4 separate regions of the Homo sapiens genome follow, and regions 2, 3 and 4 are each linked to region 1. The links are contacts of gene promoters, found by promoter capture Hi-C in blood cells and fetal thymus (Javierre and others, 2016). All regions are on one chromosome and are shown on one strand. Each heading gives the region's core, a stretch centred on a gene start or on the middle of the fragment in contact. The rest is flanking DNA. Distances are from core to core; before and after follow the strand shown. Region 1 holds the start of COG1 (component of oligomeric golgi complex 1). Region 2 overlaps SLC39A11 (solute carrier family 39 member 11). Region 3 overlaps SDK2 (sidekick cell adhesion molecule 2). Region 4 overlaps SLC39A11 (solute carrier family 39 member 11).

Region 1 (5,810 bases), core at 1,864-4,363:
AGTGCCTCATAAAAGGGCTGGAGGCAACTTTTAGGTTCTTCTACCTTCCCCCACGTGAGGATACAGCAAGAAGGCCCTCACCAGACATCAAAGGCCAGTGCCTTAATCTTGGACTTCCCAGACCCACAACTGTGAAAAATACACTTGTGTTATAAATTGCCCAATCTCAGGTATTTTGTTATGGCAGCACAAATGGACTAAGAAACCTAAATTCCAAATCTCATCATGCCCTTAAGGTCCCTCCTTACTAAGAACAACCCAAGCCTAAACTGACTTCCTTCAGAACTCCTAGGGTAAATATACACAATTATTTTGGGAATCAAACATCCCGGGTTCCAGTGATTCTCCTGCCTCAGCCTCCTGAGTAGCTGGGATCGCAGGTGCGTGTCGCCACGCCTGGCTAATTTTTGTATTTTCAGTAGAGACAGGGTTTTACCATGTTGGCCAGGCTGGTCTCAAACTCCTGACCTCAAGTGATCCACCGCCTCAGCCTCCCAAAGTGCTGGGATAACAGGCCTGAGCCACCGCGCCCAGCCTTTTTTTTTTTTTTTTTTGGGACAGCATCTCACTTTGTTGCCCAGGCTGGGGTGCAGTGGTGCGATCATGGCTCACTGCAGCCTTGACCTCTTGGGCTCAAGAGATCTTCCCACTTCAGCCTTCCAAGTAGCTGGGACCACAGGCATGTGCCACCATGCCCGCTCACTTTTTGGTATTTTTTGTAGAGATGGTGTTTCACCGTGTTGCCCAGGTTGGTTTCAAACTCCTGTGATCAAGCAATCCACCTGCCTTGGCCTCCCAAAGTGCTGGCATGAGCCACAGCGCCTGACCTGTTATTCTAAATTTTTTTACATTTTTTTCTCGTCAAGTTTCCATGGATTTATTTCCTCGACCAGGTTGTAAGCTCCTTCAGAGCAGGAATTGGGGGACTTCTGTTTCTTTGTAATGTGAACGAAGAAGACACTCAAATTTTTGTAGGGTTAACCGAGAATAAACCAGATATAACAACTATGAAAATCAATACGTTTCTAAAATCAGGCATAATTCAAGTTAGCGTTTTAATAAACCCTGAAGCATGACTCAGTTACAGCAAAGGCTGGCCACCTAAGGGGACACGTGTACTAAATGTTAGCTTTGGGAGGGATGAGGTCACTCATTTCAAAAATATGCAAACTTATTTGCAACTTCCTATAGTTTTATTGTGTCAGTCCAGTCTACTGACCAGGATTTCTGTAAAGCTCAGATAGCATGAACAAGTTCCAAATTGGAGTTAGACTGTACTTTTCAATTTTTTCTTCTATGTCCCAGTAAGTTCTCCCAGGCTGTTAAAAACAACTAACTGTTTACCTTTTTCACCCTTCATGCCCTTTCACTTCGTTCATTGCTAGGTCTATATTCTTTAAGGGGCCGTGCGCGGTGGCTCTCGCGCCTGTAATCCCATCACTTTGGGAGGCCAAGGCAGGCAGATCACATGAGGTCAGGGGTTGGAGACCAGCCGGGCCAATATGGTGAAACCCCGTCTCTACTGAAAGTACAAAAATTAGTCGGACATGGTGGCAGGTGCCTGTAATCCCAGCTACGCGGGTGGCTGAGGCAGGAGAATCGCTTGAACCCGGGAGGCGGAGGTTGCAGTGAGCCGAGATCGCGCCACTGCACTCCAGCCTGGGTGACAGAGCGAGATCCTGTCTCAAAAAATAAAGAAATAAAAATTCTTTTTTTTTTTTTTTTTGAGACAGAGTCTCGCTCTGTGGCCCAGGCTGGAGTGCAGTGGCGCGATCTCGGCTCACTGCAAGCTCCGCCTCCCGGGTTCATGCCATTCTCCTGCCTCAGCCTCCCAGGTAGCTGGGACTACAGGCGCCGGCCACCACGCCTGGCTAATTTTGTGTATTTTTAGTAGAGACGGGGTTTCACCGTGTTAGCCAGGATGGTCTGGATCTCCTGACCTCGTGATCCACCCGCCTCGGCCTCCCAAAGTGCTGGGATTACAGGCGTGAGCCACCGCACCCGGCCAATAAAAATTCTTTAGGAACGCAAGCTGCAGCTCCAATATGAGGATGTGTTTGTTTACCTCCCATCCTTCCTCATTGTGTCTAATCAATAGCGTTTGGGGGGAAGAACACGGGATAAGGAGAACCTGAATGAAAAAAGCCTTAGTTCTGAAAATGAAAATGTTCAGCTATTAAAAGGTAAGGGCTTGGCCGGCTGTGGTGGCTCATGACTGTAATCCCAGCACTTTGGGAGACCCTGTCACATACATACATAAAGTTAAGGGCTTGATAGCTGGTACCCTCAACAACTCCCAAAGGGTAGAACAGCTATTTGGGGTTGTGGAAGTTATTCTTGGGGAGATAAGGGGAAGGTTGGGATGAGGAAGAAATGACTTGGAGTGCAGGTGTCAACATAGGGGAGAAACCTGAGGAAAAACAATGTCAGGACATGTTATATAGGTGAGCGTTGAACTGTCAAGACAGAAACTCCTGGCGTTTTCCGCTAAAATTGAAAGGAGCCCAGTGAGGTGTAGGAATCAAGGCCCGGAAGTCGGGGGAAAGCGCCTGAAGAAACTGTTGAATGGCATTTCCAGAACGGATCAGCAGCCGCATATGTGCAAGGAAGGCTGGCACTGTCCTCTGAGGGGGGCCCAAAGGGTGAGGGGCGGATAGGCTCCTGGCTAAGGAAGGTGAGGACTCGCGGGGTCTGGGACTGACAGAGGGGGGCGGGGTTGACCTGCAAGGCCAGGGGCTCCGGGACCCGCCTGCGGGTCGCAGGGTGGGGGCACGGGGACTGACCTGCTGGGCCCGCGGTGGCCGGGGCGCGGCCGAGCCGGCCTGGCGGAGGCGGGCGCAGTACTGGTCGGTGGCCTTCACGGCGTCCACTAGCCCCACGGCGCAGCGGCGCATCTGGCCGATGGTGTCGGCCGCCTCGATCAGGTCGCGGTACCGTTCGCCCACCATCTGCCGCAGCTCCTCCTTCTTGTGCTCGATCTCGGCCCGAACCTGGCGCTCCAGCCCGCGGATCTCCTCCGCTCCATGCGTCTCGAAAAGAGCCGCAGGGTCGCGCAGATCCAGCCGCTTCAGCGCGGGTGAGGTTGCCGCGGTGGCCATGGTGCACTCGTCAGCCCCCGGCGATCTACCTACGCCCTTTTAGTCCCGCCCCCTCCGCCATCTTCGTTGGGGGCGGAAGCGCTTCCGCCCCGCCGGGGGCCATGTTTGTTACCCGAGGGGGCGGGCGCGAGGGGGCGGGCGCGAGGGGGCGGGCGCGAGGGGGCGGGCGCGAGGGGGCGGGCGCGAGGGGGCGGGCGCGAGGGGGCGGGCGCGAGGGGGCGGGGGCGGGCGCGGGCGCGGGGGCGGGCGCGGTCCTGCGCGGGGTTTTCTTAAACGGAGCCGGCTGGGAAGTGAGGTCGCCAGAGAGGTGAGGTCGCCAGGTTGGCTGCGAAACTGTGGCTGAAGTCTTCCCTTTCCCTTAGGAGCAGAGCTTCTCTGTGGAGTTAGGTGTCGGGATCGGGCCCCGCGGACTGACGGCGTTGGCGCAGGCGCAGCCGCCGCTCTCCGCGCGCCTGGCGCCCGCGAGCAGACTCGGGCGCGCTCGCCGCCGCTGGGTCTCGGATCGCACCCCGCGTGCAGTTTTAGGAAGAGGGACATCCGCGCCCCTCGCTGTTCCCCGGGAAGAGCTACCACGCCGCCCCTGAAGGGGTTCTGAGCGCTTGTTTGGCGTCTGCTTTTCCTCTGCTGTTGATTCGTGTTGGAGGTTTTCCATTTCGTTTAAAACCGATGTTTAGCCCCTGAAGACGTTTTCCCTGCGAGAGCCTGACCTTGGTGGCCATGGGGGAGGAGGGCGGCGGGCTGGGCGGGAGAGGCTGGGACGCCCCGGGGAACGCAGCGCCAGACGGGTGGGCGCTCCTCACGTGGCCCAGGAATAGTAGAATCTGGAGATTGTGGCTTGTTTCTGCTAAGTCCCAGACCCTTCTTTTTTTTTTTTTCTGTTTTAATTTCTTTTGGAAGATTTCACCCACACCAGTGTCGACAAAATGATGCAATGTGCGCAGCGGCCATGCTGAGCCCCCAGCAACTCAGGGCCTACCCTGCATCCCTGCTCATTCCCTCTCCCACCCGCCACCTCCGGACGCACAGAATTTCAATCTGCAAATAAATGGTGCATTTATAATATTCCAGTTTAACCCGCAAGAGCCTTGCGGCGTAGGGAGTATCATTCTCACTTTACAGACTCATTTTACAGATGGGGAAACGGGGGCCCGGAGAGGCAAAGGGTTTTTTACTCAGTAAAAGTGCAGTTTTCAGAGCCTGTCCACGAGATTATCTCATTTTCTCGCACATCGGCCATGCCAGGTAGGTAGGAGTAATATTCCTAGTCCATTTATGAGGAAAAAAAAAAAAGAAACAAAAGCTTATTTACCTGCCCAAATTACATAGCTGATAGGTGACCCAGTGAGTATTTGGACGTCGATTTTTAAATTACTGGCTCGCGCTCTTTTCTACGTTTTCACATAATTTCCCACAGAGCACCCTCTGTTGGCAGGCCTGCAGTTTGCAGTCTCTAATCCCATTCTGCAAGGGACACTTACTGGTATTCGGCTGATAAGCATCCGCAGTATCTCCTTTCTGTGATTGGGGAATTCATCGCTATCTAGCAAAATCTTTTTTTCTGGCGCCCTTTATAGCTACGGTGCCAGCCTGCGGCCTGGGACTGGCACAGCAGGCACAAGCGCCTAGGACTTGGGTGAAGAGTTAGTGACATTAAGAAGCAGGCTGTAATCCCAGCACTTTGGGAGCCCAAGGCGTGTGGATCCCTTGAGCCCAGGAGTTCAAGACCAGCCTGGGCAACACGGCCAAACCCCGTCCTTACAAAAAAATACAAAAAAAGGGGCGCGCGCCGGGTGGCTCATGCCTGTAATCCCAGCACTTTGGGAGGCCGAGGCAGGCGGATCACATGAGGTCAGGAGTTCGAGACCAGCCTGGCCAACATGGTGATACCCTGTCTCTACTAAAAATACAAAAATTAGCTGGGCGTGGTGGCGCACATCTATAATCCCAGCTACTCGGGAGGCTGAGGCAGCAGACAGGAAGCTGAGGCAGGAGAATCACTTGAACCTGGGAGACGGAGGTTGCAGTGAGCCGAGATCGAGACACTGCACTCCAGCCTGAGCGACAGAGTGAGGCTCCGTCTCAAAAAAAAAAAGAAAAAGAAAATTAGCCGGGAGTAGTGGTGTGGGCCTGTGGACCTGTAGTCCCAGCCACTTGACAAGAGGCAAGTGAGGCAAGAGGATCACTTGAGCCTCTGGAGGTCGAGACTGCGTCAGTGAGCCATGATTGGGCCACTGCATTCCAGCCTAGACAACAGAACAAGACCCTGTCTCAAAAAAAAAAAAAAAAAAAAATCGCAGGTGACAGGGGCGATTGCATTTTGGTGGTGGCACAGGTATCACCGGCAACATCCACTCCCTAAGGACAGCAAGGGCAGTGAACTTAGCTCCAGCTCCCAGCTGCTAATGCTGGCGGTGGTGCTGGTGGCAGCCGTGGGCACCCACAATGACGTCCTCGACAGAATCACCATGTGGTGTGCTCGTCTAGGTTTTAAATGTTCTGTTTCCCTTCCTTCCTTCCTGCCTGTCCCCTGAACCTGCCTCCCCATCTTTCCCAGAGATTCTATGAACTGTGCAGTGTCTTACTGATCAATTTTGTTTCTTTGAAAATCAAAATCGGTTTCCCTGGTTTGCCCTAGCCCTAACTGATATACACTGCACTAAGGTTCCAGCTCCATGAGAGTTTGGTTGAAGCCTTTCTTACAGCAAGGGGAGA
Region 2 (5,885 bases), core at 857-3,356, 230 kb after region 1:
GGGATGCAGGATGATGTTACAGGTTGGATGGGGGCTGATGCTGTCAGGAGGTGGAGAAGAAGGAGGCTGGGGTCTGGGGTGGAGGAGAGGGGGTGGTGAATGCTATTAGTTCTCCACGTGTAGACAATTGTAACAACCGAGGGTGGAAAAGAACTGAGACTGCAGAGAGGAAAGCGCCCTCCTTAGCTCTGCTGTTAAGGGGCTGGGCACAGTTATTAACCTCCCTAGTTGATCCCTCATGTCCTGGCAGTGATGAGCTCTCCAGCGGCTCTCAACATTAATCTGAGGCTGATTTGCTGGCCTGGAGCATCCACTCTGAAGGTGCACAGTGCGAATGCTTTGTGCATTGCTCCAGCTGAAGATACATGTCAGAGAAAAGCAATCAGTACCTTTTGCCTCTGATGGGTTTGTGTTTTTTGCAAAGCACTCTCTCCTCTGGCTGTTGGAGCTTTTCGTCACGGATTATTTTTCCTGCTTGGGAAGGGATGCTTTTGATTTTCCTAGCTTAAGTTAGCCCAACCCTCCAGGGACCTGTGGACATACCACCCTCTTTTGCCTGCTTCCTGGGCGGGCACTCTGGTGTGGAGGCTGGTTTTAGGATGGCTCCCAGGATATGCTTAGGAGCTGGTCTTCTAGATAAAAGGAAAACACACACACACACACACTCTCTCTCTCTCTCTCTCTCTCTCTCTCTGAGCATGCTTATATAGCATTTTCTTCTCATGAGGGTGTTTTCTTATAATAAAAAGGTATAATATCTCACTCTAGCATAGTAGTCCCTAGCCTTTTTGGCACCAGGGACCAGTTTCATGGAAGACAATTTTTCTACAGAGCGGGGGATGGATGGTTGTGGGATGATTCAAGCATATTACACTTATCGTGCACTTTATTTCTATTATTGTTACATTGTAATCTATAATGAAATGATTATATAACTCACCATAATGGACAATCAGTGGGAGCCCTGAGCTCATTTTCCTGCAACGAGGTGGTCCCATCTAGGGGTGATGGGAGGCGGTGACAGATCATCAGGCATTAGATTCTCATAAGGAACGCGCAACCTAGATCCTTTGCATGCACAGTTCACAATAGGGCTCATGCTCCTTTGAGAATCTAATGCCGCTGCTGATCTGACAGGAGGTGGAGCTCAGGCAGTAATTCCAGCAGTGGGGAGTGGCTGTAAATACAGATGAAGCGGCCGGGCGTGGTGGCTGACGCCTGTAATCCCAGCACTTTGGGAGGCTGAGGCGGGCGGATCACGAGGTCAGGAGATCAAGACCATCCTGGCTAACATGGGGAAACCCCCTCTCTACTAAAAATACAAAAAATTAGCTGGGCGTGGTGGCGGGCGCCTGTAGTCCCAGCTACTCGGGAGGCTGAGGAAGGAGAATGGCGTGAACCCGGGAGGTGGAGCTTGCAGTGAGCAGAGATCGCGCCACTGCACTCCAGCCTGGGCGACAGAGCGAGCCTCCGTCTCAAAAAAAAGAACAACAACAATAACAAAAAAAAACAGATGAAGCTTCCTTTCCTCAACCCCCTGCTGCTCACCTCCTGATGTGCGGCCCGGTTTGTGACCTGGGGATTGGGGACCCCTGCCCTAGAAGATCTGTTAATTTCTGAAACTACTATCACTTCCAGAACATTCCCATCTTTCACCTGAGTATATGTGCTAAGCCTCCCTCTGTGGGGGGCGGTAGTAATTCTCAACAGATAATCTTTGTAGGAGGAATGCCCACACCCGAAAGAGCCTGGGCCGGCTTGCGTGGAGGTCACAATTTTCTCAGTTTAAACCTTCACCTTTGCTGAGAGTTCTTCCTCTCTGGAACCCACTGGATGTGATGTTCCCACAGGGAACCTCTGACTGAGAAAGGCAGCACCACCCAGGCCAGCAGGGGTGCCAGCCTGCGCCTCCCTTGGATGCCCTGTGGGTTTTCAGTGGCTGCGTTGCCCTCAGCTGGGCCTGTCACCCTGGTTCAGCAGAATGAAGACCTGCCTTGCAGCCAAGGGCTCTTTTCCTCAAGGTGTGCTACGACTTCTACAAGTGGCTTGGAAACTTATGGGGAGGGGTTGGAGCCATTTTCTCTTCCATGGAATGGGAGTTGGTGTCTTTTTTTCTAGAAATTTGTAGGTTTGTGGATGGTTTGGTATAGAGCAGGCTTCAGGGACTATTCAGTCTGAATTCCCTAGTTTTATGAACAAGAGTTGAAGTGACAAGGTCAGGTATCTAACAGCAGAACTTCCTCTCTGTTCAGATTTCTCAGCTGTTGGCATGGTGTGGCACCTTGTATCTCCCTGCATGATTTTCTGGTCTTCCATCCTGGTATCTTTTCCACACATTAAGCCTCACCTCCTTCCTTTTGGAGATACTCCTTGACTTACAGTGGGATTACATCTCAATAAACCTATCATAGCTGAAAATACTGTAAGTCAAAAATGCATTTAATACACCGAACCTGCTGAGCATCATAGCTTAGCCCAGCTACCTTAAACGTGCTCAAAACACCTACATTAGCCTGCAGTTGGGCAAAATCATCTAACACAAAGCCTAGTTTATAATAAGGTGTTGAATACCTCATGAAACTTACAGAATATTGTACTGAAATTGAGAAACCGAACGGTTGTATAGGTATTCAAAGTGCAGTTTCTATTGAATGCATATCACTTTTGCACCGTTGTAAAGTCAAAAAAGCTTGAAACGCCAGAAACCAGGGATCGTCCATACTTTTATCCATCTCAGCATTTTTCTAGTCCCATATTTCCTCCAGCTTTTTTTTTCAACCTTTAGAGATGTTTTATTCCAGTTTCTTTTTTTTTAAATTATACTTTAAGTTCTAGGGTACATGTGCACAAGGTGCAGGTTTGTTACATATGTATACATGTGCCATGTTGGTGTGCTGCACCCATTAACTCGTCACTTAACATTAGGTATATCTCCTAATGCTTTCCCTCCCCCCTTCCCCCACCTCACAACAGGCCCCGGTGATGTTCCCCTTCCTGTGTCCAAGTGTTCTCATTGTTCAATTCGCACCTATGAGTGAGAACATGCAGTGTTTGGTTTTTTGTCCTTGTGATAGTTTGCTGAGAATGATGGTTTCCAGCTTCATCCGTGTCCGTACAAAGGACATGAACTCATCCTTTTTTATGGCTGCGTAGTATTCCATGGTGTATATGTGCCACATTTTCTTAATCCAGTCTATCATTGATGGACATTTGGGTTGGTTCCAAGTCGTTGCTATTGTGCATAGTGCCGCAATAAACATACGTGTGCATGTGTCTTTATAGCAGCATGATTTATAGTCCTTTGGGTATATACCCAGTAATGGGATGGCTGGGTCAAATGGTATTTCTAGTTCTAGATCCCTGAGTAATTGCCACACTGTCTTCCACAATGGTTGAACTAGTTTACAGTTGTTGGCATACTCTACCTGGTTTCATACTAATGGCCAAGTATCTCACACTAGCACTTACCTCAGAACATTGAGTGTCACGCCCATTCCCAATTTACAGTCTTTTACTTCAATTTCTTCTTTTTCCTTCTTCCTTTGTTTTTAAACAGGATGATAATCCTATTGATATTGCTGATAATAGTTTTATGCCTGTTTTCTGGCATTTGAGGAGGATTTTAATTGTTTCATTTATACCCTTACATCTCCCTGGAGGCCATCAGCTTACAGCTGTTAGGTGGCTGATGCGGACCGGGAGGCCAAGGTAACCATGGATCCAAACAAAACTACGCAGCTCATCCAGGGACCACATGTGGCTTCATTAGCCCTGTGTTTGTAACTTTAGGTTAATTTGTTCTCATTAAGCAAATTAGCATATTAATTCTGTCCTGCAGTGGTCTGGGAACTATCTTCATTTGTTGCTTAGCCCAAAGGTCAGCACTGGAGGATCAGAGTCTTGACTAAAGTCTCTTTCTGAGACTGGCTCAGGTGCCCTTTGGAATAGCCATGGCACTTGCATCGTACGAGGAAAACTCGTGTGTACCTCGGGGGGCGCCACTAGCAGAGCCACCTTTGTACTTTTGGGGGTCCTAGCAGCTTTTGCCTTTCTGGGCTCCTTTCTCCACAAAAAAAGACTAAAACTTATATTTTGCAGCTGTGTTGGTATAAGGATGAATATAATCTAGGCTGGATTCATTATCATGTAGTTGTTATTTTTTCTTCTGATTTGAGAAGAAATTAAAACTGTTCATGGGTCCCTAAAGGTGGGCTACTGGACATTGCGTCTCCTGTGCCTAATGCTGCTTTTGCCCCTGAGGCCAACACAGATATCTTCCCTGGATGGCTGAGCTGAAGCCTTTGCCAGGCAGAACCTCAACTATATAATGACTTGTTGTCATTTATTGATGTATCAGAAGAAATGGGATTCCTCCTATGAGTTTGGAGCTTTGATTGTAAGTTTGTGCCATAAAAAAATTGGTGGAGCGCTACATCTTATTCATAACACATGGCTCCAGAATTAGTTTCCTAAGGGTACATTTAGACCCTAGAAATGTCAACGTGCTAGAAATGTCAGGGAGAGAGTTTTTTCTAAACAGATATGTGGTGGTAGGTGGAGATCTGAGATGGCCCTTAAGAATTATACCCCACAGTGGCCGGGCGCGGTGGCTCACGCCTGTAATCCCAGCACTTTGGGAGGCTGAGGTGGGCGGATCACGAGGTCAGGAGATCAAGACCATCCTGGCTAACACGGTGAAACCCCGTCTCTACTAAAAATACAAAAAATTAGCCGGGCGTGGTGGCGGGCGCCTGTAGTCCCAGCTACTCTGGAGGCTGAGGAAGGAGAATGGCGTGAACCCGGGAGGCGGAGCTTGCAGGGAGCTGGGATCGCACCACTGCACTCCAGCCTGGGGGACAGAGTGAGACTCCATCTCAAAAAAAAAAAAAAAAAAAGAAAGGAAAAAAAGAATTATACCCCATGGTGTGTGTGCCCTAGAAGCCCCTCCCTGTGATGGGAATTAAGTCCCATTAAGTTACTGATCAGGTTATCAGTCTCTTGACTTGACTCCATGGAAAGGGAGATTATCCTGGGTGGGCCTGGCATAGTGAGGTGAGCCCTTAAAAGAGAGAGTGGGCCTTCCTTGAGGTCAGAGAGACTTGAAGTGAGAGAGAAGTCTCCTGCTGGTCTTGCAGAAGCTAACAGCTGTGTGGCTTATAGTCATATAGCCAGCTCTTTATGGAGCTGACTCCCCGTAGAGGCAGACACTTGTCAGGAACCTAAGGGCTGGCCGGGCCCGATGGCTCACGCCTGTAATCCCAGCACTTTGGGAGGCTGAGGCGGGTGGACCACCTGAGGGCAGGAGTTCGAGACCGGCCTCACCAATGTGATGAAACCCCGTCTCTACTAAAAATACAAAACTTAGCCAGGTGTGGTGGCGTGTGCCTGTAGTCCCAGCTACTTGGGAAGCTGAGACAGGAGAATTGCATGAACTCGGGAGGCAGAGGTTACAGTGAGCCAAGGTCGGGCCACTGTACTCCAGCCTGGGCAACAGAGCAAGACTTCATCTCAGAAAAAAAAAATTAGCAAAAAACCCCCAAAACCCAAGGGCAGCCTCTAGGAACAGAGAGAGGTCACCAGCCTGAAGCCAGCAAGAAAATAGGGACCTGAATCCTTCTTAGTTGCAAGAAACGTAATTCTTACAACAGCCAATATGCTTGGAAGAGGACCCTGAGCCTCAGAGGAGATCAAAGCCCCAGCCACTGTCTTCATTTCAGCCTGTGGGACTCTGAGCAGAGGACCTAGCTGCACCGATCCCTGGACTCTGGCCCCATGGAAACGGTGGTGAAAAAGGAGTGTTGTTTGAGGCCTCTGGACTTGTGGTAATTCTTCATGCAGCAGTGACAATCTTATCCAGGCATGGTGTATGTCTCAATTTGGTTATT
Region 3 (5,321 bases), core at 222-2,721, 170 kb before region 1:
GAGATCCAGGTCTCCTAACTTCCAGGCAGAGAATCGTTAAATATATTCTTCCCCCTTTGGTCAACGGAAACAGGGAGGAAAGGAAGGGAAACCTGAGTGGACAGGGCTCTGTTGAGACCATAAAGAAGGGGGGCAGCCAAGGACGGTGGCTCACGCCTGTAATGACAGCACTTTGGGAGGCTGAGGCGGGTGGATCACCTGAGGTCAGGAGTTCCAAGACCAGCCTGGCCAACATGGTGAAACCCCGTCTCTACTGAAAATACAAAAATTAGCCGGGTGTGGTGGTGGGTACCTGTAGTCTCAGCTACTCGGGAAGCTGAGGCAGGAGAATCGCTTGAACCCGGCAGGCAGAGGTTGCAGTAAGCCGGGATCACGCCACTGCACTCCAGCCTGGGCGACAGAGCTAGATTCCATCTCAAAAGGAAAAAAGAAAAGAAAAAGAAGAGGGGAGCCCCTGAGGGTCCTACTTTGCCCTTTCCCAAACCTTAGGGTTCTCAGCTTTACTGTGGGTTAGTCCTTCTTTAGCTTTGGTGGGAGTCAGGAACCCCTTGGAGAATCTGATGAGAATCTGACCAAAGCTTCAGAGCCTCTCCCCAGGAAGATACACAAGACCAAGGAGGTCCCTGCACCCCCCACTGCTATCTGCGGACCCCAGATCAAGAGCCCTGCTCTGCAAATGACCTCGCTCTTGTCCTTAACCCTGTTCATCTGACTGGTCTTCTGACCCCTTCCTCCGGGCCCCAGCTGGGAACCTGCCCATTTCTGGGCTCCTAGGCTGGGCTGCGCAGCCCCTGACAATGGGCATCTGGTACCTGCCAGCTTTCTACCCCTGGTAACATGCCAAGAAATCCCTGCCATTTTGTTATGAACAACCATCCTATGAGGATGGGATTTAGGCAGGAAGGAAACTGCGTTCCTCACTGCCTGGGACTAGTCCCAGCCAGGTGCTGGGGGTGTGGCTGACCTCTGGAGCCACCCCTCTCACTCTCACCCCCTCCAATCACGGAGCCTGGCAAGAACAAGGGGCAGAGACCTGGGAACATCGTTGTGACCAGCAGTTCTCGGTGAGCCTAGGGAACAATGGCCCTCAGTCTTCCCTGCTACCACCTGGGTGCCAGCAGCTCGTTCTGCAAAGGGGAGCTGTGTGTTAGAACACCAGGGGGGAGCCAGGCCCCAGCAGGAGATCCAGTCAGGTGCAGGGCCGGAGTGGGGCAGAGGACAGCAGTCCCCGAGACAAGGTACAGGGGGCCAGCACAAGCCCTCTTCACAGGGGCCTCAACCTGGCCTGTCCAGGACCCTCTCAACTTGAGGATGTGAGCTCTTTGCCTTCCAATTCCACAGTCTGGTGGGATCTGGACTGTGTGGCTCAACTCCACACCCCTACACATTCCCATCTTCCCATAATAGTTCAGTTAATAAGTACAGCAAGACAAGGCCCCGCCTGGACAGCCCAGTGTCCACACCCCAGTTCATCCTGGGTTCAGGTCAATAGCAAACCAGCCTCACAAAAGCCCAGCAGCCCCCACTGTCCTGTAGGGAAAACCAAGGTCCAGGCAGATGAGGGCTTTGTTCAGAATTGTCAAGGAGCAGGTAGCCAGAGTCCCTGTTCCTGGTCCCAGGGTCATTTCATTCTTTCAGGAAGCCCCTCTGAGCCTACATTGTTCCATCATTTAGTAATCCACTTAGCGGCCGGGTGCAGTGGCTCACACCTGCAATCCCAGCACTTCGGGAGGCCGAGGCGGTGGATCACCTGAGTTCAGGAGTTCGAGACCAGCCTGACCAACGTGGCAAAATCCTGTCTCTACTAAAAATACAAAATTAGCTGGGTGTGGTAGTGGACGCCTACTCGGGAGGCTGAGGCAGGAGAATCGCTTGAACCCAGGAGGCGGAGGTTTCAGTGAGCTGAGATCGCGCCATTGCACTCCAGCCTGGGCAACAATAGTGAAAATCCACCTCAAAACGATAATATTAGTAATCCACTTAGTCAATAAATAGGTCAGGCACCTACATGCTCTGTTATTTTACTTAAAGCTCATAGCATCCCTGCCTAAGATGCTGTGGACACCCTCACTCGGCAGAACAAACTGAAGCCAAGTTAAGGGACATGCCGGGGCCGGCGCCATCACTGGGTCTGAGCCCAGCCTATTGGCTGCAAGGCCTGTCTTTCACTGGTGACTGGCGTGCTCGATGGACATGGGAAATGACACTAACCCCGGCTCCCAGGGAGGCTGGCAGTCAGGAGTATTTGGATTCGCGAAGCACAGAGTGCAAACCCCCACCTCCTGAAAGCTGGCTCAAGCGTCCCCTCTAGTTGCTGTGATTTGGGGTGCTGAGGCATCCTCACTTTTGCCCTAAAAAGCTTGGTGGACTGGGCATAGTGGTTCATGCCTATAATCCCAGCACTTTGAGAGGCCAAGGTGGGAGGATCACTTGAGGCCAGGAGTTCGCGACCAGCCTGGGCAACATAATGAGACCCTGTCTCTACAAAAATTTAAAAATTAGCCAGGCATGATGGTGCACACCTACAGTCTTAGCTACTTGGAAGGCTGAAAGTGGCAGGACGGCTTGAACCCAGGAGGTCGAGGCTACAGTGAGCCATGATTGTGCCTGAGCAACAGAGCAAGACCTTGTCTTAAAAAAAAAAAAAAAATTGTGGCAGATATAGGTGCTGGAGGGCCATGTGAGCTCCTGGCTGAACCCCAGAGGTGGAGCTGGAGTGGGGCTCAGGTGGAGGACCTGGTCAAAAGTGTGTCCCCGCAACTCTGGGCTTTTGGTATTTTTATGGAAGCACTTCCTGAAAAAGGATATAATTCTAGTCCCATGGGATGCTGCATAAGGGAATAGCAATGGAGCCGAAACATATTTGGGGTGCAGAGGTTACATTAAACAGGATGGCGAGTGTTCTCTTTTCTGTAGATGCTGATGATGGACCCTGTGGCTACTCAGTAGACACAGACAGTAGTAGCTTTTCCCAAACATACTGAACCATGGAGCCGTTCTCCCTGAGAACAGCAGGCAGGACCGTGCTGTGAGAAACACAGCATGGGCAATGTGGTTGTGTGGGCTGGGGGTGCATTTCAGCCTGACCTCAAGGAGTGAGGCCCCTACCCAGGGTCCCGGGGCCCAGGCCACGGCCGCTTCCCCTTCCCCATGGCCTCCAGTGCCCTCGGTGGGCCCTGTGCCCAGTCCCCACTTGCTGTGCCTCCCCCAGGAGTCAGCAAGATCGTGACCGTGGACGTGAAGGGGAACAGCCCCCTGTGGCTGAAGGTGAAGGACCTGGCGGAGGGGGTGACCTACAGGTTCCGCATCAGAGCCAAGACCTTCACCTACGGGCCGGAGATCGAAGCCAACGTCACCACGGGCCCCGGAGAAGGTAGGAGAGCAACGGACCAGGCATGTCTTCCACACGGCGGTTCAGCGTCCCCAGTCAGAAGGGGCCCCCGGTGTCAAGAGCTGTGCTGGACCCTGGAAACAGAGTGGAGGACAGAGCTCACTCTTTCCCCTGGTGCCCAGTGACCCCTCCCCCCGCTCCCTCCTCCCGGGCTCCACGCTTTGATTAATGTGTCCTCAGGTTCCTCAAGCCACAAACCCTGGAGCAGCGCCCCCTCCTCTCCCACTTAGGCCCAGCCCACAGGCCTGGCCTGGCCACTGCGCCTGCTTCGTTCTTTCTCTCCCTGCTAATTGCATGGCCTCCTTTACTTCCGTCCTGGAAGGATGCAGCCTGGCAGGTGCCCCTGCCTTTCGCCCAGCCAGAGCCATCTTCCCACGCCCCTGAACCACCCCTACCCTCCAGGCAGCGGTTCTCAGAGCAGGGCGCACTAAAATGCACGTTCCCAGGGTGGATGCTCCGAGGGGTTGATTTCCTGGGGCTGAGGTGGGACCTGGCAGTCTGCACTTAGACAAAAGCCCCTGGAGGCCGTGACAAAGTGGCACCTTGAGAAACACCTGATGGAGCAGGTCACCTATTCACAGCCAGGGCCCTGCCTCCCCCACCTCACCACCCACCCCCTCCGCAGAACGCCCTTTTGTGTGTAACTGCCCGCCCCTCACCCCAGGAAGTCTTCCTTAATCTCCTGTATTGTTTCTGTTGTTGTTGTTTGGGCTTTTTTTTTTTTTTTCTGGAGACAGAGTCTCGCTCTGTCATCCAGGCTGGAGTGCAGTGGTGCAATCTCAGTTCACTGCAACCTCCACCTCCCGGGTTCAAGCAATTCTCAAGCTTCAGCCTCCCAAGTAGCTGGGATTACAGGTGATTTCTACCACGACCAGCTAATTTTTGTATTTTTAGTAGAGACAGGGTTTGGCCAGGCTGGTCTCCAACTCCTGACCTCAAGTGATCCACCTGCTGCAGTCTCCCAAAGTGCTGGGATTACAGGCATGAGCCACTGTGCCCAATCGCCTCCTTTAAATGTCCTCTTCACCTCCCTTCCCCTCCCACCCCTCATCCCCCCAGGCATTTGCCATGGTCAAGGTTTAGCCCTCCAAAGTCCCTGTTACTGGTCAGTGTAGAATGTCCTGTCCTGAACACAAAAGTCACCTCCCAGACCACTCTGCTGCCTCCCTCCCTAAGAAGGGGTACAGCCCATCCTGGACTTCCCCTAAAATCCCATCTCCTCCTCTGCCCACCCCCTTCAGCCAAGAATGGCGCAGGCCTCCCCTCCCCAGCAGTCCCAATTAGCCTGACTCAGGAAGAGAGTCTTCCCCTAATGGCTTAGTCTGGCTGCGCTTCACTTTTTCTTTCTGGCCAGTCACTTTCTATTCCCCACAGTCTGGTTCTGCAAAGAAGCCCTGTAGCTCTAGGGCAAACTCAGGACAAAGCCTGCAGGAGGCAGCCCAGGAGCCACCCAGCCGCTGTCCTTTCATCTGCCTCCAGCCCCGCCCCGCGCTGCCTCTCACCTGAGCCAGCTTCCTGGGAAACAAAAGTAGGAGAGAGAGCTGGCAAGCAACTGAGGACCAAGCGTTGGCAGTGGCCTGGGGACAGGAGAGGGCTGTGCGGAGGACAGGCTGTTCTATCCTGAGGCTTGAAGTGTCCCAGGCTGAGAGGTGGGGAGGTGGGAGGAGATAAAGGGCAGAGGGTTCAGAGAAGGTAGTGGAGGGCACTCTGAGAAAGAAAGAACCAGCCGGGTGTGGGGGTTCACGCCTGTAATCCCAACATTTTGGGAGGTGGAGGCGGGTGGATTGCCTGAGCCCAGGAGTTCAAGACCAGCCTGGGCAATACAGCAAAACCCCATCTCTACAAAAATAAAATTATCCAGGCATACTGGTGAATACCTGAAGTCCCAGCTACTCAGGAGGCTGTCGTGGGAGAATCGTTTGAGCCCAGG
Region 4 (5,273 bases), core at 1,914-4,413, 250 kb after region 1:
AGCAACCCTTGTAACCGTTGCTAGCTGTTCAGCTGCAAAAGCAAATGCAGCTCTTGGGGAAGCACAGAGATGATCTCCCAGCCATCTCTTGAAAGGTCGCTGTTCTTCTCACCTGGACACACCTGTGGGTGTCAGGCACCTGAGGACTCCAAAACTGATAATGGCTATTTGATAACTGGCTTCATGCAGATGGAGCCTGAATATGCATTATTTGTACCATCTGGATTTGCCCTTAAGCTTGCTGTAAATGGAGCAAGGAGATGGGTTTAATGGGTATTTAGTGAATAACATTAGCCTTTAAAACATCATATTGGTGCTGCTGTTGTAATGTCCCATAATTGGTTCGACCAGAGGAAGAACTAGAAAGGCCACACTCTGGGAGAGGAGTTCAGCTGCTCTGAGGAGCAGCAGCAGTGACGGCAGCCTGAGCTGGGAAAAGCATTTATGAGATACTTTCCTATTTAGGTCTTAGTGTGCAATGTTTTCTGATATCAGCTATTCTCAAGGCTGGGGATATTTTGGGACTTAGGTAGGCCAGAAGAAGTTCCTTTAAATCTATCAGTCTCTCTTTCTTTCATTCTCTCTCCCATCCATCCATCCATCCATCCATCCATCTCCAATTAGCTTTCTTTTAATTAAAAATATAATGACATCGGTTAAAAGTAATTTTTCTTCCACCTTCAAATCCCTTATGGTCTAGTCCCCCCATCTCAGACACAAACATCGTTTCTAGTTTCTTGTGCATCCTTTCAGAATTATCATGTTTCTATAATCACACCTGACCCATTGTTCTGTATCATATGTTTTTGCACTTAACGGTACCCTTGGGTGTTTTTTTCCTGAGGTGCTCATAGATCCATCCCATTCTTGTTATTGGCCATGATGCTACCTAATTAGCCCTCTCTGGATGCCCATGGGGTTAATTCTGATGCTTTGCTATTGCAAAGAATGTGGCACAGAGCATTTTAGTATCTACATCTCTGTGGACAGTTATATTGTTGAGTAAATTCTAGAAATGAGGCCAGGAGTTCTTTATGTCTGGGCTCCATGCATGAGTACCAAAGGACTCACGAGCCTCTTGCATTTTATGCAAAGTCTGTGTGTGTGTGTATGTGTGTGTGTGTGTTTGAAAGGCAAGGGACTATAAGTTATATTTCATCACACCCCAGATGGCTGCATACACCCAGTGTTGTTCAAGATCTTGGGCTTCTCTGTCTCAGTTGTCCCCACTCAGCTGTCAAGTTGAGTTTTTTTTCTTTTCTTCATAGCATCCTCTGTAGGCTAAAGAGAAGGTAGTTAAAAGTGAATCAGTTGATTCTCTTACTAATTGTTAATTTCCCCATTTAAATATGCAGTATGTTCTGGGGGAGGAAGTTGAAATGTTACCAAGCATCAGTGGGCTTGCTGCCCGATGCACACAGAGGCCAATACCGTGGCACTGGCTTTTGAGAGAAGAACAGCTTTATTGGGAGTCAAGTCAACTGGCAGGGAGACAGGAGGGAATGCCCAAATCTGTCTCCCTGAGCTGGGGGTTGGGTTGGGTTTTATAAGCATAAGTAATGAGGTGTGATCTGATTGGATCTTGCAATGAGGTGACGTTAGGAGGCATTATCTGATTGGATCCTGTCATGGGGTGATGCCAGAGTTCAATCTCATTGGATCCTGGATCCTGCCATGTGGTGTCTGCTTCTTAATTCAGTCCCACTCCTCTGTCCCAGCACTTAGGTTCCCCCTGTGGTTGTACACTTGGTTCATCTGAGCATGCTTAGGTTACATGACCTGAGGGTCCATGGCAACTGAAAAGCAGCTCACAGCTTTGTTACATAAAAGTTGAACCAGATTGGTCTGATGCAGTTATAGATACTCTTCACTAGTGAACTTTGTCATCACTATTATTATTGGTGAATTTCATCGGTCTATTAGCATAGGAGAATTGCCTATCATTTTGTGTATCTGTGGAAAGACCAGGAGAAGGCATTATTTTCTGGTAGAGCAAGAGGTGGATTTACTTTAGGAGATTATTCAGTTGTGAGGTGCCATCTGTGCATTTTCTGTAAATCTTTCTGAAGTGTTGGGGGAAAAAGTGAATGGGTACTCAAGTCAGGGAAGCGTAAGCCGTACGACACTCAGGTAAGAAACAGATTTTTCTCTTAATGCCCTATTCTTATAGGAAAATTCACTTGGCAATAAGAATTCTGCCTACACAGCCTTGCAGATCTGATGCAATTATCAAAGCCATGTTTTGCAAAATGAAACTGATGCCAAGCTCGTGTCAAGTGGATTATAGATTGTAGAACTGCAGTCACTGGCCATTAGCTGAGTGTCTTTGTTTTCTACTCTAAAATCTTGAATTCCTTATTGGTTCTGCTTCTGATGTGCTGCGTGGCACTCTTCCTGTGGAAATGGTCTTGCAGGAGATGATTTTCCTTTCTAGCTCAAGCTTCTCAAGTGCCCAACCCCGGATCAGCAACCCCAGGGCTTGTCCTGTTCGGGAACACGATGGAGTTCAGTTGCTCTTTGATCCCCTTCTTCCACCTCAAGACACTCTCTCTTCTCCAGGTATCACAGTGTCCTCTTTCAGTCTTGTATTTGGAATCATCCCTTTCTCCCATTTTCCCTGTTAAACATCCTCCCTTAGGTGCCTTTGGAAAAAGATTTGATGAACTGAAGAACAGGGAGGTATTGGCCCATTGACTTCATGTTTTACTACTGCTTACGTGTTTGTCTGTTGACTGGGAACGGTTTCTCTAGTTCAACAATGAACCCAATAGGTGGGTTTTCACACTGGCTAGGCTTTGGAGGATTGCATTTTTTTAGACATAATGTGTGGGGCTTAGGGAGGGCAGCCAGGCAGTGTGGGATGCAATCTCTTCTCTGAAGCAGCTGGTTCTCGCTATAAGCTCAGCCACGTACATTCCACTCCCAAGTTTCCTTGGCGCTAAAACTGCTTGGAATAGCCTAAGCCTACGGAAGCAAAGATGACTTATTTAAACAGCTTCATGGTTCCTATTACCTTTCTTTTTCTGTATCTTCTAACTTTCCATGTCTTCCTGAAGGACATGTTCCTTTTGTCACTGATATTTCCAGTCAAATTTAGTGATCTTAAATTTGATCGAGAGTGAGGTGTAACTCCTAGGAGAAATTCTGAGTGTTTATAACTAGGTTTCCGAAATAATGTGTTTGGGGAAGTCTCTGAGATGTTATTAATTTTGACTTTTTATTGGTAAGATCTCTAAAAATGAAAGAGTATTTTCACAACAGTTCATGTAGATATAATTTCTTGGCATGTGGTTTTGGCAATCAGAGTTTTATTTATTTATTTTTTTCCCTGTACCTGCTTGGTTAGGGGAGACTTTAAAATCTTGTCCTGGCCCAATTGAGAGGAGTTATCTAGGAACTGAAAAATAGGTAGGCCCTGGCTGCTACCTCCTTTCTGGGCTAAGACCCGTAACCTGGGTTTCTTCATTTGAAGTGTGAGAATGCACGTGTAATCCCAGCACTTTGGGAGGCCGAGGCAGGTGGATCACCTCAGGTCAGGAGTTCGAGACCAGCCTGGCCAACATGGTGAAACCCCTGTCTCTACTAAAAAAAAAATAATAATAATACAAAAATTAGCCAGGCGTGGTGGCACATGCCTGTAATCATAGCTACTTGGGAGGCTGAGGCAGGAGAATCACTTGAACCCAGGAGGCAGAGGCTGCAGTGAGCTGAGATTGTGCCACTGCACTCCAGCCTGGGCGACAGAGTGAGACTCTGTCTCAGTAAATAAATAAATAAATAAATAAATAAATAAATAGAATGAAGCAAACCAGCGTTAAAATGTGCCGCACAAAAATATTTTGCAGGAGGGCAAAGGGCTCAATAATAATAACTGCCAGAAGCTTTTTCGCATCTGGATATTAAATAAACAATGCAGAGATACCTTCTTGGACAGGGATCTGTGCAGGCAGCATGAGACCGTTAGTGTCCTAGCTCATGGGAACATTATCAGGGTGGGTACGCTTTATAGAGTCTTTTGCTTCTGAAGAGTGTTCTATTTGGCCTAATATGGAGCACTCAAATAGCACTTTATCTGCTTCTGCCTTTTAAAAAAAAAAAAAAACACAGTCCTGATTTTCTAAGCCAGGCAGTAATTTCAGAGCAAATTTTCATGTGGCATGAGGCTAGAGGCAATTTGGCACTCACATGTGTTTGCTAGGGCTGCTGTAGCAAAATACCACAAACCGGGTGGCTTAAACTGCAGAAATTTATTTTTTTCACAGTTCTGGAGGCTGGAAGTCCAAGACTAATAGTTGGCAAGATTGGTCGGTTTCTTCTGAGGCCTTTCTCCTTGGCTGGTAGATGGCTGTCGTCTCCCTGTGGCTTCACATGGTCTGTCTTTTTATCGAGACAGAGTCTCACTGTGTCACCCAGGCTGGAGTGCAGTGGTGCGATCATGGCTCACTGTAGCCTCAACCTCCTGGGCTCAAGCTATCCTCTCACCTCAGCCCCCGGAGTAGCTGGGACTACAGGAGTGCGCCACCACACCTGGCTAATTTTTGTATTTTTTTGTAGAGATGGCATTTTGCCGTGTTGCCCAGGCTGGTCTTGAACTCCTGGGCTCAAGCTATCCACCCACCTCGGCCTCCCAAAGCGTGGTCTTTCCTCTGTGCCTGTCGGTGTCCCAATCTCCTTTTCTTATAAGGACACCAGTCATATTGGATTAGGGCCCACTCTAATGACCTCATTTTAACCTTATTAACACTTTAAAAATCCTATCTCCCTTACAGTTACATTCTTAGGTACTGGGCGTTAGGACTTCAACATAGAAATTTGAAGCGGGGGACGTGATTCAGGCCATAGTTGCGCTGAACAATTTTTTGAGAAGTTGTCTTCCAGAGATAGTAGTTAGCTTCAAGGAATTCCAGGTGTCAGGAGAAAGGAGTTCTCTTTGTTTCTGCCTTCTAGATTCTCTCACTGCATGGCTGCCTCCTTACGTTAGCCTCATACCTGCATGGGCTGGGAATGCAGACTATGCAGGATGAAAAAAGAGTAGAATGAAGTTGAAAAGTTACTCAAAGAGTGCAGCGAGAAAGAAAGTCAGGGCCGGGCGCAGTGGCTCACGCCTGTAATCCCAGCACTTCGGGAGGCCGAGGCAGGTGGACCACCTAAGGTCAGGAGTTCGAGACCAGCCTGGTCAACATGGTGAAACCCCGTCTCTACTAAAAATGCAAAAATTAGCCGAGCGTGTTGGCACATGCCTGTAATCCCAGCTACGTGGGAGGCTAAGGCAG

What was found. Contacts are between HindIII fragments. The CHiCAGO score rates a contact against its expected background, and 5 or more counts as called.
Region 2: a contact is called between a fragment that was not itself captured here and the fragment with the promoter of COG1 in region 1, in 1 of 17 cell types (M1 macrophages). The highest score is 5.1, in M1 macrophages.
Region 3: a fragment that was not itself captured here is called in contact with the fragment with the promoter of COG1 in region 1 in 2 of 17 cell types (total CD8 T cells and naive CD8 T cells); the score reaches 7.9 in total CD8 T cells.
Region 4: a fragment that was not itself captured here is called in contact with the fragment with the promoter of COG1 in region 1 in 1 of 17 cell types (M0 macrophages); the score reaches 5.9 in M0 macrophages.

What each region holds. Positions count from the first base shown.
Region 1 is chr17:73,190,358-73,196,167 of GRCh38, reverse strand. COG1 (component of oligomeric golgi complex 1) reads right to left here and starts at 3,113. Exons shown (of 14, transcript NM_018714.3): 1 at 2,784-3,113. The coding sequence starts at 3,098. RefSeq lists a silencer at 2,622-2,831 and enhancers at 2,882-3,161, 3,792-3,841, 3,127-3,886. The HindIII fragment of the contact is 5,644 bases long and covers 1-4,400 here.
Region 2 is chr17:72,962,180-72,968,064 of GRCh38, reverse strand. All of the region lies in intron 4 of SLC39A11 (solute carrier family 39 member 11), which reads left to right. Among named protein-coding and RNA genes, the nearest start is that of SLC39A11, 130 kb to the left of the region's middle. The HindIII fragment of the contact is 1,170 bases long and covers 1,522-2,691 here.
Region 3 is chr17:73,359,736-73,365,056 of GRCh38, reverse strand. SDK2 (sidekick cell adhesion molecule 2) reads left to right here. Exons shown (of 45, transcript NM_001144952.2): 39 at 3,212-3,373. Among named protein-coding and RNA genes, the nearest start is that of CDC42EP4, 50 kb to the right of the region's middle. RefSeq lists enhancers at 1-70, 535-1,510, 3,328-3,999. The HindIII fragment of the contact is 1,781 bases long and covers 581-2,361 here.
Region 4 is chr17:72,940,386-72,945,658 of GRCh38, reverse strand. The region is part of intron 5 of SLC39A11 (solute carrier family 39 member 11); the gene reads left to right. Among named protein-coding and RNA genes, the nearest start is that of SLC39A11, 150 kb to the left of the region's middle. The HindIII fragment of the contact is 1,441 bases long and covers 2,443-3,883 here.